3 separate regions of the Homo sapiens genome follow, and regions 2 and 3 are each linked to region 1. Evidence: promoter capture Hi-C in 16 types of primary human blood cells and fetal thymus (Javierre and others, 2016). All regions are on one chromosome and are shown on one strand. The core of a region is centred on a gene start or on the middle of the fragment in contact, and the rest is flanking DNA. Distances in the headings are between cores, read along the strand shown. Region 1 holds the start of DNAJB2 (DnaJ heat shock protein family (Hsp40) member B2). Region 2 overlaps STK36 (serine/threonine kinase 36). Region 3 overlaps TTLL4 (tubulin tyrosine ligase like 4).

The links. Contacts are between HindIII fragments. The CHiCAGO score rates a contact against its expected background, and 5 or more counts as called.
Region 2: a contact is called between a fragment that was not itself captured here and the fragment with the promoter of DNAJB2 in region 1, in 4 of 17 cell types (activated CD4 T cells, naive B cells, total CD8 T cells and 1 more). The highest score is 6.7, in activated CD4 T cells.
Region 3: a fragment that was not itself captured here is called in contact with the fragment with the promoter of DNAJB2 in region 1 in 4 of 17 cell types (activated CD4 T cells, naive CD8 T cells, naive B cells and 1 more); the score reaches 7.8 in activated CD4 T cells.

What each region holds. Positions count from the first base shown.
Region 1 is chr2:219,275,600-219,280,615 of GRCh38, reverse strand. DNAJB2 (DnaJ heat shock protein family (Hsp40) member B2) reads right to left here and starts at 1,250. Exons shown (of 9, transcript NM_006736.6): 1 at 1,098-1,250; 2 at 718-818; 3 at 1-38. The coding sequence starts at 782. RefSeq lists silencers at 926-1,405, 2,647-2,849 and an enhancer at 2,426-3,130. The HindIII fragment of the contact is 26,435 bases long and covers 1-5,016 here.
Region 2 is chr2:218,700,329-218,705,344 of GRCh38, reverse strand. It overlaps STK36 (serine/threonine kinase 36), which reads right to left. Exons shown (of 27, transcript NM_015690.5): 27 at 2,630-3,479. The coding sequence ends at 3,336. Among named protein-coding and RNA genes, the nearest start is that of TTLL4, 8.0 kb to the left of the region's middle. The HindIII fragment of the contact is 889 bases long and covers 2,291-3,179 here.
Region 3 is chr2:218,717,335-218,722,350 of GRCh38, reverse strand. The region is part of intron 1 of TTLL4 (tubulin tyrosine ligase like 4); the gene reads right to left. Among named protein-coding and RNA genes, the nearest start is that of TTLL4, 9.0 kb to the right of the region's middle. RefSeq lists a silencer at 2,488-2,785. The HindIII fragment of the contact is 161 bases long and covers 2,901-3,061 here.

The DNA.
Region 1 (5,016 bases), core at 1-2,500:
TTTTGTCTGGGTGCCACTGGAGAGCCTTGCGCCGATACCTGCAGAAAGTGGGTGCAGAGGAGAGAGTCGGGGGACAAATGCAGGCACTTCCCACCCAGGAACCGAACGACCTGTTTTCCCATTAGCCTATCACTGTCCTTTCACCCCCGGGTCCCAGTCCACCCCAGCTGCTAGGGCTGCCGCTGCTGTGATATTTTCATCAAGTTCCACCCTCTCTCCTCCGCCACCAGTGCTGGGACCACATGTACAAGCGGATACAATGCCAGGGTCCCTAGCCCCTCCCTAGGGCTCACTGGACTGGGGCTGCAAAGGTTGGGGCACATGTGGCCTCGAAGAGTACAGGGACACCGGCCCCTCCTCCTCATAGAGCCTCTTTGCACTGCATCTTTGCACTGCAGCCTGAGAATGCCCAAATCTAGGGGGAAGGGGGAGGGGAGGGGAAAGGAGGAGGAGGAGGAGGAGGAGGGGAAGATCAACTGGAGAACAACCCATAACACAGTGCAGCTCCCAGAGGAACTAACTACTTCACTCTCTGGACGTTCTCCTTGTACTCTACCAGGGGTCTCTTTCCTCCCTGCAGGTGTCACTCGGAAGAAGCACCCCAGTGCTTTCTAACGACCTGGTTCCCTCAGACACCTACAGGTGTCACTCTGAAGTGCCCCATGGTGGTGGCGGGTGGAGGGTGAGAGGTCTTCTGTTGCATACGGAGGCACTTACGCCTTCTTGATGTCATCAGCGGACGCACTTCGCGGCACGTCTAGGATCTCGTAGTAGGATGCCATGGCAACTGGTCAGTCGTCAGGCGGGCCTCCTTGGGGCTGCAGAAGAGAAGGAGTCAGGCGGAAAGAACCAAGAGCCCCACCCTGTGGCTGCAGCAGTCCCCCTCCCCGGGTGGCGGAAGGCGCTCCCAGTTGGAAGCGGAGCACACCGGGCTCTGCTTGCGGCCGGTGACTAGGCTCCCTCCGGCAGCCTTATCTGCCCCCGCAGGCCGGGGCCAAGAGCTATCTCGACGCCCAGGCCCAGGAGCCCTATCGGGGCCCCCCAACTCCAGCAGTCCGATCCAGGGCCCCCAGCCTGACCCGGGCCCCCGGCCGCACCTCCTCCGCCAGGAGTCCCGGCCTCCTGCGGCGCCCCGCCCCTGCCCCCCGCCGGGAACCGTCTGGCACCCGCAGCCCGGCTCGCGGCTGCTGCGTAGGACGCGCCCGGCCCAGCTGTGCGCGCAGGCATGCGTCAGCGGTGCGGAAACTACTAGAGACGGGGAGAAGGCCGGCTCCGCCTGTCCCCTGGGGGGGTGGGGGCCTGCAGGGGCTGCCGGGAGAAGAGGGCGGAGCCGGCTATTTTGGGCACACACCAGGACGACGTCAGCCCCAGCTGGGACCTGGGAGACTGCGGCCCCGCCTCCATCCAAGCGAGAAGCGCTCGCACGGAGGCTGGGGCAGCCCACAAACAAGCCGCTCGGCCCCCAGGTTCCTCTGTCACTTTCTTATAAACATGAGCGATGATCCATGCTTACTCACCCACCTCGAGGACTCAGACTCTTCCCTCCCTCCCCCCACCACGGTTCTAACTCCTCCCCCTTCTTCAGCTCCCAGCTCCAGCCCCAGGTCCCCCAGCAGGCTGCCCTGGCTTTCCTGAGTAGGTCAGAACTGCCTTTTACAGCATCTCGTGGCATTTCCTTCATCAGGCTTGTTAGAGCCACAAATTAGCATTTATTGGTTTGATTATTTTTTATTACCATTCACCTCCCCCACTAGAATGTCGATTTCACAGGACAGGAATTGTGTGTTTTTTCTCACTGGTCTATTAGAGCAGTCGTAGGGGTTCAAAACTACCCGTGGGATGAATAAATAATGAACACCTGCAAACCTCTTGTTGACAGTTTTGACACATTTGGGGGAGGTGAGGTAAAGGGGGCCGTACAACGGAATTCCCCAGGTTCAAGTCTTCCCAAACTGATCCTGAGTAGGCCTATTCCACTTCAAAATGCTCCCTGGGTTCAGGCCTCATTGGAGAGTTAGGAAACCTTCCAGAACTGGCTCCTGCTTGATCCCATCCAGGCCAATCCAAAGGCGTTAGCTGAGCATTTTTCTGCATTCAAGATGCTGCCAGGCCGTATAAAGAAGAATGTGGCCCAAGCCCTGCCTTTGCAGAGCTTGAACTTGATAAGATACCAGCCCATCAGTGTAGCCCGCTGGGAAACCCGAGGCTTTGGAAACAGAGTACAACCTGGCATTACTGTGAGACTTGGGAAAATCTCTGAGCACTCTTTTTTTCTCACTAAATATAGGTAGTGCCTAGGGTTGTTTGAAAGTCAAATGAGACATGGTACGAATTAGGTGTTACTGCGGTCCTGCTGGCATCGTGATTGGCTCAAGCAATAATGGTTATGTGAGTCCAGAAAAGTGCTTTAGGCTGGGGGACCCAGGAATACTTCGCCAACGAGAAGGGTTTGAGGCGGACGTGAGAGAAGAAGGTGGTGTGAGTGTCCTGGTTTCCTGGCTGCCCACCATCAGAACCTCCTGCCTACATTTGGGGAATTCCCATCGCAAGGGCCCTAATGGAAAGCAGGCCACCATTTGCCACAAAGCCCCAATGCTTGCTCTCCCTGACTCGGCTCTGGGGTTGCAGGCAGAAGACATGAGCTCCGCCAATCGGATGCTCCAACTGGGACTTTGAATCTGGAGCAAGTCACGGAATAGCAAGGCTGGTTTAGGAATTCATTTCTGCGGCGGCGGTGGAGGCGATGGGGCCAACAGCGGCCTCTAGTGTCTGGAGGAGGAAGTGTCAGCGCTACTGCCGCAGGTGAGGGACGAGAGTAGGAGGATCACTGCGGAGGGTGGAGGGGACAGGAGTCTCCTACACAGGCTGTCCTGTGCCCAACCTTGACTGTGGTACTGGCTGCCCAGCTTCCCTAGGTGCCTGTCTGATTGCTGACCCTTGTTTGCTGGCCCTTGCATTGATTCTGTGTGCTATCCGATATCTCTATAATTGTTGGGGGCAGGGGACTTGAAACAATTTGCCAGTTAGCTTCTGCTGTTTATAAGAGTCCTGACTGACACAAAGACTAAGGGTTAGACTTGGTATAAGAGGAAGGAGTGGTTGGGTTAAGTCACTCCAAATTTTCCAGATCTCTGCCTTTTTCTTCTTACTCTGCTGTGCCAACAGACATTTGTCTAGCACCTACCGTGTATGTCTTGTTATATTAAGAAAAAGAATATAAAAAAGTTTAAATTCCAATCTCTGTGCTCAAGGGGATAGGACATAGACAAATGACAACTGAGGGAAATTATATGGAGCACATCTAGCAGACAAAGGTTTAATTTCCTTTGTCCACAAAGAAATGCCAACTAATGAAAGACAATGACATTTTTAAATGGACAAAGGGACAGGCAGCTCACAGAAGAGGAAATACTGGCTTTTAAACAAATGAAAAGATGCTCAATCTCATTCACAAAAAAACTGTAAACTAAAGCTACGACAGGCCAGGCATGGTGGCTCATGCCTGTAATCCCAGCACTTTGGGAGGCCAAGGCGGGTAGATCACCTGAGGTCAGGAGTTTCAGATCAGCCTGGCCAATATGGTGAAACCCTGTCTCTACCAAAAATACAAAAAGTAGCCAGGCGTGGTGGCACATGCCTGTAATCCCAGCTACTCGGCAGGCTGAGACGGGAAAATCACTTGAACCCGGGAGGCGGAGGTTGCAGTGAGCCAAGATCGTGCCATTGCACTCCAGCCTGGGCAACAAGAGTGAAACTCCATCTCAAATAATAATAATTTTTAAAAGAATAATAATAATAAAGCTACAACAAAATACTTTGGGGTTTTGTTTTTTGAGATGGAGTCTTGCTCTGTCATCCAGGCTCCAGTGCAGTGGCACTATCTTGGCTCACTGCAACCTCCCAGGTTCAAGCAATTCCCCTGCCTCAGCCTCCCAAGTAGCTGGGATTACAGGCATGTGCCACCACCCCTGGCTAATTTTTGTATTTTTTGTAGAGATGGGGTTTCACCATGTTGGCCAGACTGGTCTCAAACTCCTGGCCTCAGATGATCCTCCTGCCTCAGCCTCCCAAAGTGCTGGGACTATAGGCCAGAGCCACTGCACCCGGGCACATGGCCCTAACAAAATACTTTGTTTCACTTATTGGATGATTGACAAAGACAAAAAAAAGAAAAAAGTTGAATACATTGTATGGGCAAGGCTGAGGGCACAGGCATTCTTATAGATTGGTAGTGGGAGGGTGGGTAATTTGATGTGACTTTTTTTTTTTTTTTTTTTTTGAGGCAGAGTTTCACTCTTATTGCCCAGGCTGGAGTGCAATGGTGCAATCTTGGCTCACGGCAACCTCTGCCTCCCGGGTTCAAGCAGTTCTCCTGCCTCAGCCTCCCAAGTAGCTGGGATTGCAGGCGTGAGCCGCCGTGCCCGGCCTGGTGTGACTTTTAAAGAGAGCAAGATTTAAAATGCATAATCTTTGACCCAGAAATCTCAATTCTAAGAATGTATGGTCATATATATGTGCAAAAAAAATACATACAAGGGTTGCAGCATTCTTTTTAATAGCAAAAGATTGGAAACAATCTAAATACCCGTTAATAGCAGACTGGTAAAACAAGTGTTGGTATGCTATACGATGGAATATTATATTGTGACCAAATAGAATGAGGCATAGCTAACAGTATTCATATGGACCATCTTCCAGATTTATTATTAACTGAAAAAACAAGGTGTAGAACAAAGTGTATACTAAATGTGCATACAAGCATGGTAGTACAGATGGAGCATCCCTACTCCAAAAACCCAAAATGTGAAATGTTCAAAAATTCAAAACTTTTTGAGTACCTGACATGATGCCACAAGTGGAAAATTCCATACCTGACCTTATATACACAAACTGTTTCATGCACAAAATTATTTAAAACATAGGCTGGGCTCAATGGCTCAGGCCTATAATCCCAGCACTTTGGGAGGCCGAGGCGGGAGGATCACCTGAAGTCTGGAGGATCACCTGAGGTCAGGA
Region 2 (5,016 bases), core at 1,486-3,985, 580 kb after region 1:
GGAAATAGGAAGAATACTGTAATGGAATAAATGACATCCCAATACATAATCAGCCAAATCTAATGTGAAGAAGCCTACTGCTCAAATGATCTGGTTTATTCAATGAAATTGTACCTCCCAAAAGTAGAGGGAACTGTTTTATATTAAGAATCTTGGCCGGGCGCGGTGGCTCATGCCTGTAATCCCAGCACTTTGGGAGGCCGAGGCGGGTGGATCACCTGAGGTCAGGAGTTTGAGACCAGCCTGGCCAACATGGTGAAACCCCATCTCTACTAAAAATACAAAAAACCTAACTGGGCATGGTGGTGTGTGCCTGTAATCCCAGCTATTCGGGAGGCTGAGACAGGAGAATCGCTTGAACCTGGGAAGTGGAGGTTGTAGTGAGCCAAGATCATGCCACTGCACTCCAGCCTGGGCAACAGAGCAAGACTCTGTCTCAAAAATAAATAAATATATAAATAAATAAAATATTTTTTTCAGATCTCAGCAACTTCTAAAAAAAAATTAAAAATTTCATTCATTCTACCCTGATATTAAGAATCTTACAAGCAAGTCAACCAAATGCAGTAAGTAGACTTCATCTAGATCTGTATTTGAACAAACTAACTACAGGCCAAGAAATACTAAGGTCAGCTGAGATATTTAATATTAAGCAATTGTTAATTTTTGTCAAGTACAGTACTATACTGTGGTTTTGATAAAAGTGAAATACAAAAGTCCTGATCTGCCGCAGACGTATACCTAAGTATGTATGGATAACACTGCCAGCCAGGATTTGTTTTAAAATAACCTGAGTAAGGCTGGGGCAGTGGCTCACACCTGTAACCCCAGCATTTTGGGAGTATCACTTCATCCCAGGAGTTCCAAACCAGCCTGGGCAACACAGTGAGACCCCATCTCTATAAAAAATACAAAAATGAGTCGGGCGCCTGTAGTCCGAGCTACTCGGGAGGCTGAGGTGGGAGGATTCCTTGAGCCTGAGAGGTCGAGGCTACAGTGAGCCATGATCATGCCACTGCCCTCCAGCCTGGGTGACAGAGCGAGACCCTGTCTCAAAAACAAACAAACACCAGAATAACAAAATAGATATGGTAGCTGCTCAAGTAGTGATGGAGTACACTGAACTATCCTCTACCTCTGTGTGTGTTCAAACATTTCCAACTGAAAGACAAGATGTTCACAATTGAACTCATTCCCACCCATTATCACTCCACTGCTAGCCTTCCCCATTTTAGTGAATGACAATTCCATTCTTCCAATTGCTCAGACCAAAAACCTTGGAGTCATCCCTGACTGCTTTCTTTTGGTCATACCCTCACCTCCAATCAGTCAAGAAATCCTGTTTGTTCCATGTTCAAAATATATTCAAAATTTGACTACTTTTTTATCACTCCATAGGTATCACCCCAGTCGCCATCCAGGACACCATTGTCTCTTGCCTGGATTATTATAACAATAGCCTCCTAACTGCTTATCCTACTTCGCATTCTCCCCTACTCCCCATAGCCATTCACAAGACCAGAATGAAGAATGATCCGTTTAGGATGCAAGGTAGTTCATAAAATTCTCTGTTCAAAAGCCTGCAATAGATGCCTCCTTCATTCAAAGTAAGAGCCCAAGTCTTCACCAAGGTCTACAAAGCCTACAATATCTGGCCCCCACCATTACCTTCCTGTCTCATTTCCTACTATTCTCCACCTTCTTTACTCACTTAATCCATACTGGTTCCTCATAGCTCCTCAAGCATGCCAGGCATGCTTTCATCTCAGGGCCTTGGCTTTTCCCCAAAATAGGTGCACAACTCACTCCCTCGCCTCCTTCGAGTCTTTTCTCAAGTGTCACCTTCTAGTGAGGCCTACCCTGACCATCCGACTCAGCACTCCTCATCTCCTTTCCCTGGTTTCTTTTTCTCCATAGCTTTTACCACCTTCCTACATACTATTCTTTTAATAATTTCACTATCTCCCCGACCAGAATGGAAACTCTATGATGGGCACTGTTTTATCTCCTGTACCTAGAATAGTATCTGGCATACAGAAAGGACTCAAAAAATATACATTGAACTGAATTGAGATAATCTGGATAGAAGAAAATTATGGTGCTCCCTAGAAAAATATTATTTTTGCTAAAGTATAAACACTGTGGACAATGAAGATGAGGGTTAAACAAAATTTCTTATAAAAATAAGGGCACTTTACTTGTCTTTCATTTCTAAAACAACTGGAATTTAAGGAAGGACAGAAAGGAGTCTCCTCATTTTATGGATGGAGAAATCAAGGCCCTGGAAGCTTGTTCTAAGCCATCCAATGAGTTAAGGTTTTCCAATGCTTCCAGTTAGATTATAATTCTAACAGGTCTGACTAAAAGCCCTTTCTGGTAAATTGTACAATCTTTAAAATAGCTATCCTTCTACAGCAGCTTGGAGTCCCTACACATTAGAACTCCACTAAATATTAAAATTAGTCACTAAGTCTGAGCAACCTAATTGACCGCTCTGTTGAATCTTACCCTTTCCTATTTCAGCTCCACCGGCCTTGACTTGAAAGTAGGTAACCAAATATAGTTCATCTAGGAAGGGGGAAATTGGTAAAGGCAAGAAATGATATAAATAAGCTGCCAGACCAGGATCTTGTGTGAACACGATACCAGCACCTCCAACACCACATAGAAGCTGAAAGAGGGGTTGAGCCTCTCAACCCTTGTCCTGGGAGCTTCAAGTATGGTGAGGCACAACTTTTATTAAAAGAGTTTACAAACAGAACTATTAAACACACACACACATACACACACACATATACACACACACCCCAAAAAAAGATACACTCTCCACGCCCACCCACAGATAGGAATGTTGGCTAAGGGATAATCCCTCAATAACAGGGACTGATGGCATTGATCCCCACAGCCTAGAGCTGAGACAGGCTCTGTCTTCATCACTGTCCTGGGGCCAGCACGTCTAAGGCAAAAACCTGCTGGGAAGATTAAAGGAGCTCCAGAAAGGAAGAGATCTTTCAGGTTGAGGTTTTTCCCTAAGGTCCGTGAGGCAGGTCCCTAGAGTTAAAGGCACATTATTGGAGAAAAGGCCCCTGGATGTAGAGAAGAAAGGACTCTTCTCTGGCACCAACAGCAATAAAATTTACTGGTTGAAAACATCCTGCATCTGGGAGAAGGAAGAAGCTTTATATATAAATCTCTTCTAGTTTCTTGTTCTCAGTTGAGTTGGCAGCTTATCTCTTTTCTAGTCTCTTTAGCTCTCAGTTGAGTTGGCGGCTTGTGTAGTAGAATAAGAAAGAGCTGGCAACCAAAGTTGGAGGCTGGACCGCAGGAATCTGGAATCACATGCTATGGGCTGGCCTCAGGAGGTGAATGAGTTTCCTGCAGTGTTTGGCAGAGGCAGGCCTAGGACTGCTGTGTGGCAGTGACTGATTCCCCAGAGAGAGCAAGGATAGTTTCTCACTGGCACCCAGGGACACCAGTACCTGTAGGATAGAGAACAGATGATAGAACAGAACATGAGGCTCAGAAATGGTGGTGTCTGGGGCAGGTGCGGAGGACTCTCATTTACCCAGGAATTCCCACTCGAGAAGAGGAAGAAAAAGGAAATGGGCTCTTGGGGACTTGGAATAGACTGAATGGCAGAAGAGAAACCTTGGAGATAGGAATCATCAGGACCAGAAGTCTACTTCCATTCTCTTTGGTTATAGACCATGAAACCAAGGCACTAAGGGACACATATACTTGTCCCCAGGAAGACTTGATGAATGCAGCAGTAACTCACAGTAAGCCAAAAGGTCTAATTCCTAGCCTTCAATGCAGACCAGTGAGTTCTAACCTCATTACCACCAAGAATCCCATTAATTATTTTCCCCATGGATTGCACAAGATTCCTATAGGATCTTCACCATCGGCCAGGCAAGGTGGCTCATGCCTGTAATCCCGTACTTTGGGAGGCCAAGGCGGGCGGGTCACGAGGTCAGGACATCGAGACCATCCTGGCTATCACGGTGAAACCCCGTCTCTACTAAAAAAAAAAAAAATACAAAAAATTAGCTGGGTGTGGCGGCAGGTGCCTGTAGTCCCAGCTACTCGGGAGGCTGAGGCAGAATGGCGTGAACCCGGGAGGCAGAGCTTGCAGTGAGCCAAGATCGCGCCACTGCACTCCAGCCTGGGGGCGACAAAGTGAGACTCCGTCTCAAAAAAAAAAAAAAGATCTTCACCATCCTCTCAAATTTCTGCTCTGCATGAACTTCCCAATGCTACCACTTTGAGATGTCATAATTTATATTACCATATGTAGATATCTGTGATTTCCAATGGGCTTTTTTTTTTTTTTGAGACAGAGTCTCGCTATGTCACCCAGGCTGGAATGCAGAGGCATGATCTCCGCTCACTGCAACCTCCTCCTCCCAGGTTCAAGGGATTCTCTTGCCTTAGCCTCCCGAGAAGCTGGGATTACAGGCGCCTGCCACCACACCCAGCTAATTTTTGTATTTTTAGTAGAGACAGGGTTTCACTATGTTGGCCAGGCTGGTCTCAAACTCCTGACCTCAAGTGATCCGCCCACCTCAGTCTCCCAAAGTGCTGGGATTACAGGCAAGAGCCACAGAGCCTGGCCTACTGGACTCTTTATATACTGAAAATCGCGGTCAGGCAGGGTGGCTCACACCTGTATTCCCAACACTTTGGGAGGCTGAGGCGGGTGGATCACTTGAGGTCAGGAGTTCAAGACCAGCCTGGCCAACATGGTGAAACCTTGTCTCCACTAAAAATGCAAAATTAGCCAGGTAAGGTGGTGTGTGCCTGTAATCCCAGCTACTTGGGAGGCTGAGACAGGAGAATCACTTGAACCTGGGAGGCAGAGGTTGCAGTGAGCCAACATTGTGCCATTGTACTCCAGCCTGGGCAACAGAGCGAGACTCCATCTTAAAAATAAATAAGTAAATAAATAAATAAATAAATAATAAAAATACAAAGATTAGCCGGGCATGGTGACAGGCACCTATAGTCCCGGCTACT
Region 3 (5,016 bases), core at 1,732-4,231, 560 kb after region 1:
CAAAGAAGCTGGTAATTTTTTTAAAAACTACCAATGAGGTTGGAAACAGACAAAGATGACTTATCTGTGTATACCTTTTCCTACAATTTTAATTTCTTTTTGTTTGTTTGAGACCAGGTCACTTGGTCACCAAGGTTTGACCTCCTGGGCTCATGGTCCTCCTATCTCACCCTCCCAAGGAGCTGGAACTACTGGTGTGTTCCACCGCACCCAGCTAACTTTTTTATTTTTTGTAGAGATAAGGTCTTGCTATCTTGCCAGGGCTAGTCTCAAACTCCTGGGCTCAAGCGATTCTCCCACCTCAGCTTCCCAAAGTGCTGGGACTGCAGACATGAACCCCTACACCTGGCCCTAATTTTAACTTCTGAGTTTTTTAATTTTTTTTTTTAAATAGAGACAGAGTCTCACTATGTTGCCCCAGTTGGTCTCGAATTCCTGCCCTCAAGTGATCCTCTTGCCTCAGCCTCTCAAAAGTGCTGAGATTACAGGTATGAGCCACTGGGCCTGGCTATTTTAAAATAAAAACCTCAATTATTTATGCATTTCTTTGCTATCTGTCTATCTTCCAGAATGAAAGCTTTGAGCACAGGGACTTTTTCACAGAGCTTATGTATCCAGCCCTAGAATGGTAATCAGGGCTCATTAAATATTTGCTGAATAAACAAATGCATCTACAACAGCTATGACCAGCTAAGGGGGAAAAAACTTTTTTCACTCCCTTACATAGTCACTCTTAACACAGTACAGAATATTTCACCTCTGGTCATCAAAATGTGTGAGGCACACACACCAAGGAATGCTCCAGAGGCCACCAGCTGGATATCCTATAATTCAATTCTGACACTATTTACCTAAAGATAGCATCAGATCTCACAGGTTAAGGGCTCAGTACCACAAGGCTGCTTCCACTTCAGATTCCAATTGCAAGGCACAGGTTGTGACCTGTGCTTCTGATTGATTTGCTATAAATTGGTGTTCCCTGGCCAGGCGCGGTGACGCACACCTGTAATCCCAACACCTTGGGTGGGGCGAATCGCTTGAGCCCAGGAGTTCAAAATTAGCCTGGGCCACATGGCAGAACCCCACCTCTTAATTAATTAATTAATTAATTAATTGGGGGTAAATTGAGGTTCCCAAAACCCCCCCATGGGGTTTGATCAATTTGTTAGAACAACTCACAGAACTCAGGGAAACACTTCACTTACATTTACCTATTTATTACAAAGGATACAGATGAACAGCCACATGGAAGAGATACATGATGCATAGGGCAAGGGATGGGGAAAAGGGCTTGGAGCTTCCGTGCTGTTACCGGGAGTGCCAGGTACATTCATGTGCTCAACAATCCAAACCCTGTCCTTTTGGGTTTTTATGCAGGTTTCATTAATAGGCATGACTGAATAAATCACTGGCCATTGGTAGTCAGCTCAATCTTTGGCTCCACTCCCCTTCCCAGAAGGTGGGGGATGGAACTGAAAGTTCCAACCCTCTAATCACATGGTTGGTTCTCTCGGCAATCAGCCTCCCATCTTGAGGCTATTCAGGAGTCCCCAGCTATCAATCATCTCATTAGCATATAAAAAGACACTTATCACTTACAAGTTCTGAAGGTTTTAGGAGCCAGGAACCAGGGGCACACCCCAATTATGTATTTCTTTCTTTTTTTTTTTTTTTTTGAGACCGGAGTCTCACTGTGTTGCCCAGGCTGGAGTGCAATGGTACGATCTCGGCTCGCTGCAACCTCTGCCTCCCGCGTTCATGCAATTCTCCCGCCTCAGCCTCCCGAATAGCCGGGATTACAGGCACCCGCCATCGTGCCCGGATAATTTTTGTATTTTTGTAGAGACAGGGTTTCACCATGCTGACCAGGCTGGAGTATTTCTTATTATATCACAATATCACATCAGCAAAGCCACGAGTTGGACCTATTCATATGAAAAAGGCGTTCCCCTCTTACCACCATCTCCTTGTTGCTATTTTTTACTCAGTGCGTGCACTCTGCCACAGCTGTACCCAACCCCTTCAATAGTGTCTTTCCTCCTCCTGAGGCCAATCCAAAATCCTCCAGTTCTTTCATCCTCCCCCACATCAAATCAATCTCTCTCACAATGTCAACTATTATCTGCAGAAGAGTCATTTTGCAGATTTGTCGTCTCAAGTTTCATGTCTGCATCACCAACTGCCTGTTCCACCTTTCCAAATGCATGTCCAACCACTTCAATCTAGTGTGTCAAACTAGCTCTCCACTCCTGATCGTCCCATTTCCTTGAGTGGACCCTTCTTTCTCCAAATCACCTAAGAGGAAAACTAAGTTATTTCTGACTTTTTCCTTTACTTTATTTCCCCAAAGGGAAACCAGTCATGAAATTTAAGACACTCTGTCTACTTAGCATTCTTCCTCCTTTTATTATTTCCACCATGCCCCTAGATCTGGACTTACTGCAACAGCACTGACTGAAGCATGTGTCTCCAAGGTGTGCCCTTCCTAATTCCACCCTGCAGGCAACCTCCAGATTAATTTTGCTGTATTGCTTCATCAGGTCAATCCCTTTTCAAAAACGGTCCATGAGCACTTACTAAACACTGTGGTGGCCCACCTGCATCAGAATAACCTGAGATGCAAAGTCCTGAGATTCACCTTCAAGAGGATTCAGTTGGTGTGGAGTAGGGCCATGAGTCTGCAGTTTTAACAAGCATTCCAGATGACTGTCATGTGAGATTTCTTAGCTTTGGTCCACAAGACTCCATAGTCGACCCTTAATCTTTTTTTTTTTTTTTTTAAGGCTTATTTCCATTTCCTCCTACCTTGAACTCTGTTATGTGAACTGCGCTGGTCTTACACTAAATTCCTGGAATAAACCTTTCAAATGCCTGTCTGCAGGGCTTTACTCCACTAAGCTTCTTCCTTGTGAATCCTTACCATATTTTATTTACCTTTTCCAGACCCAGCTCAAGACCCACCCTCTCCACGAGCACCTGTTGTGTGTCCCTCTCACGTGATACTTTCCCAAGGCTATCTCACACCACTGTTCACTTACCCTAGTGATATGCCCTATAAGCTTCATGATGGCTTTTATAGGAAATCTCTGGGGATCTTTAACCTCAAATACAGAGCCACGCTGGCAGAAGGGGGTGGGAAGAACCCTGGTCCAGTTTGGCCTCCTATTAGCAATATTGCCCAAGTCTCCTCCCCCAACAACTTTATGGAACACTAAGTCTTCCTAGAACAAAAGTTTTTAAAAAATTGACTTAGAAACGATGGATATGTTCAATGTGAATTATACCTCCACAAAACTGTTAAAAATAAAAATAAAACTTGAATAAAGGGGTAAGAGTGAAGAATAAAAAACTGCAGAAAGTTGTATGGATCAACAAAATGGCCTGAAACATCCCCTTCTATTTGCATGGCTGCCTCAGCCCAGTCTCCAACCCCTCTAACACCAAGTGCAGGACTGTTAAGGTAAGCAGCCTGACTGATGTCCCTGGCTCCAGACTCTCCCCTTTAAAACACCCATTCTCAGGAATCTGAACATCCTACTTTGTCATCTTCATGCAGCATTTGGAAACTGCCTATACAGTTCTGTCCTCCAATCTTTATGGGGTGATTTTGCCTCAAGTTTCCTCCTTAAAGGAGTGTGAATGATTAGTAGCCTATGTTAGAAAATCTATTGCTGGCCGGGCGCAGTGGTTCATGCCTGAAATCCCAGTACTTTGGGAGGCCGAGGTGGGCAGATCACCTGAGGTCGAGAGTTCGAAACCAGCCTGAGCAACATGGAGAAACCCCATTTCTACTAAAAATACAAAACTAGCCAGGCATGGTGGTGCATGCCTGTAATCCCAGCTACTTGGGAGGTGGAGGCAGGAGAATCGCTTGAACCTGGGAGGCAGAGGTTGCGGTGAGCCGAGATTGCGCCATTGCACTCCAGCCTGGGCAACAAGAGTGAAACTGCGTCTCAAAAGAAAAAAAAAAAAGAAAAGAAAATCTATTGCTGCTGTCGCAAACCAACAAGTCTCCAGGGACCAGGCCCAGACCAACTTGGACAAGGTATCTATTTCTAGAGAAAGCAATTATTCATTACCCACTAATTAAATCACTCTCCTACAAGAGAGTGTGGCTCTTGGGAAATGCAGTTTCCCTTTCCTCCTTCAACTAGGTGTTTCCCTCGGTCACCAGGGAAACTCAGGACATCAGAAATGGTTCAGTCTACAGTCCACAAGATCTCTGATGAGATTACCTCAACTGCTCAACAGTTATGTTAGAAGATAGAACTGACAGGCTCACGCCTGTAATCCCAACACTTTGGGAGGCTGAGGCAGGTGGATCACGAGGTCAGGAGATCAAAACCATCCTGGTTAACACGGTGAAACCCCATCTCTACTAAAAATACAAAAGGCGTGGTGGCAGACGCCTGCAGTCCCAGCTACTTGGGAGGCTGAGGCAGGAGAATGGCCTGAACCCGGGAGGCGGAGCTTGCAGTGAGCCGAGACTGTGCCACTGCACTCCAGCCTGGGTGACAGAGCAAGACTCTGTCTCCAAAAAAAAAAAAAAGAAGAAGATAGAACTGACTTGCCTGGAACCAAATAGAGAGGAGTGTAGGAATCACATTAATTTTCTCTTATGAGATAAATCCCAAGCTCTCTCTCCCTAAGGAAAGGTGGAGGAGCAATATATCTCTCCTAAAGCCCTACTAAGAGAGGAAGGTCAAGAATACAGCCTAGTGAGAAGGGTGGGTCCGTATAAGTCAAGATTAGTGAAATTACAGGTAGCTCTTGTAGAGCACAGTTTAGCAATGCCAAACAAGTAAGCAAACCTGAGGAAAAGATACAGGTTATGGCAGCTGGAGCTGAGGGAGGTAAACCTATAAATTACTGAAAAGTGAAACCAGTGGAAGGGTTTATGTAATGGGGTGACTCACTCTCCTGAAGCCTTGCCCTTTATCAGCTTCGGGAAGGAGGCTCTTTCCTCCTTCTCAGGTGGGCTCTGGAGCAGCAGTTCTCAAAGCATGGTCCACAGAC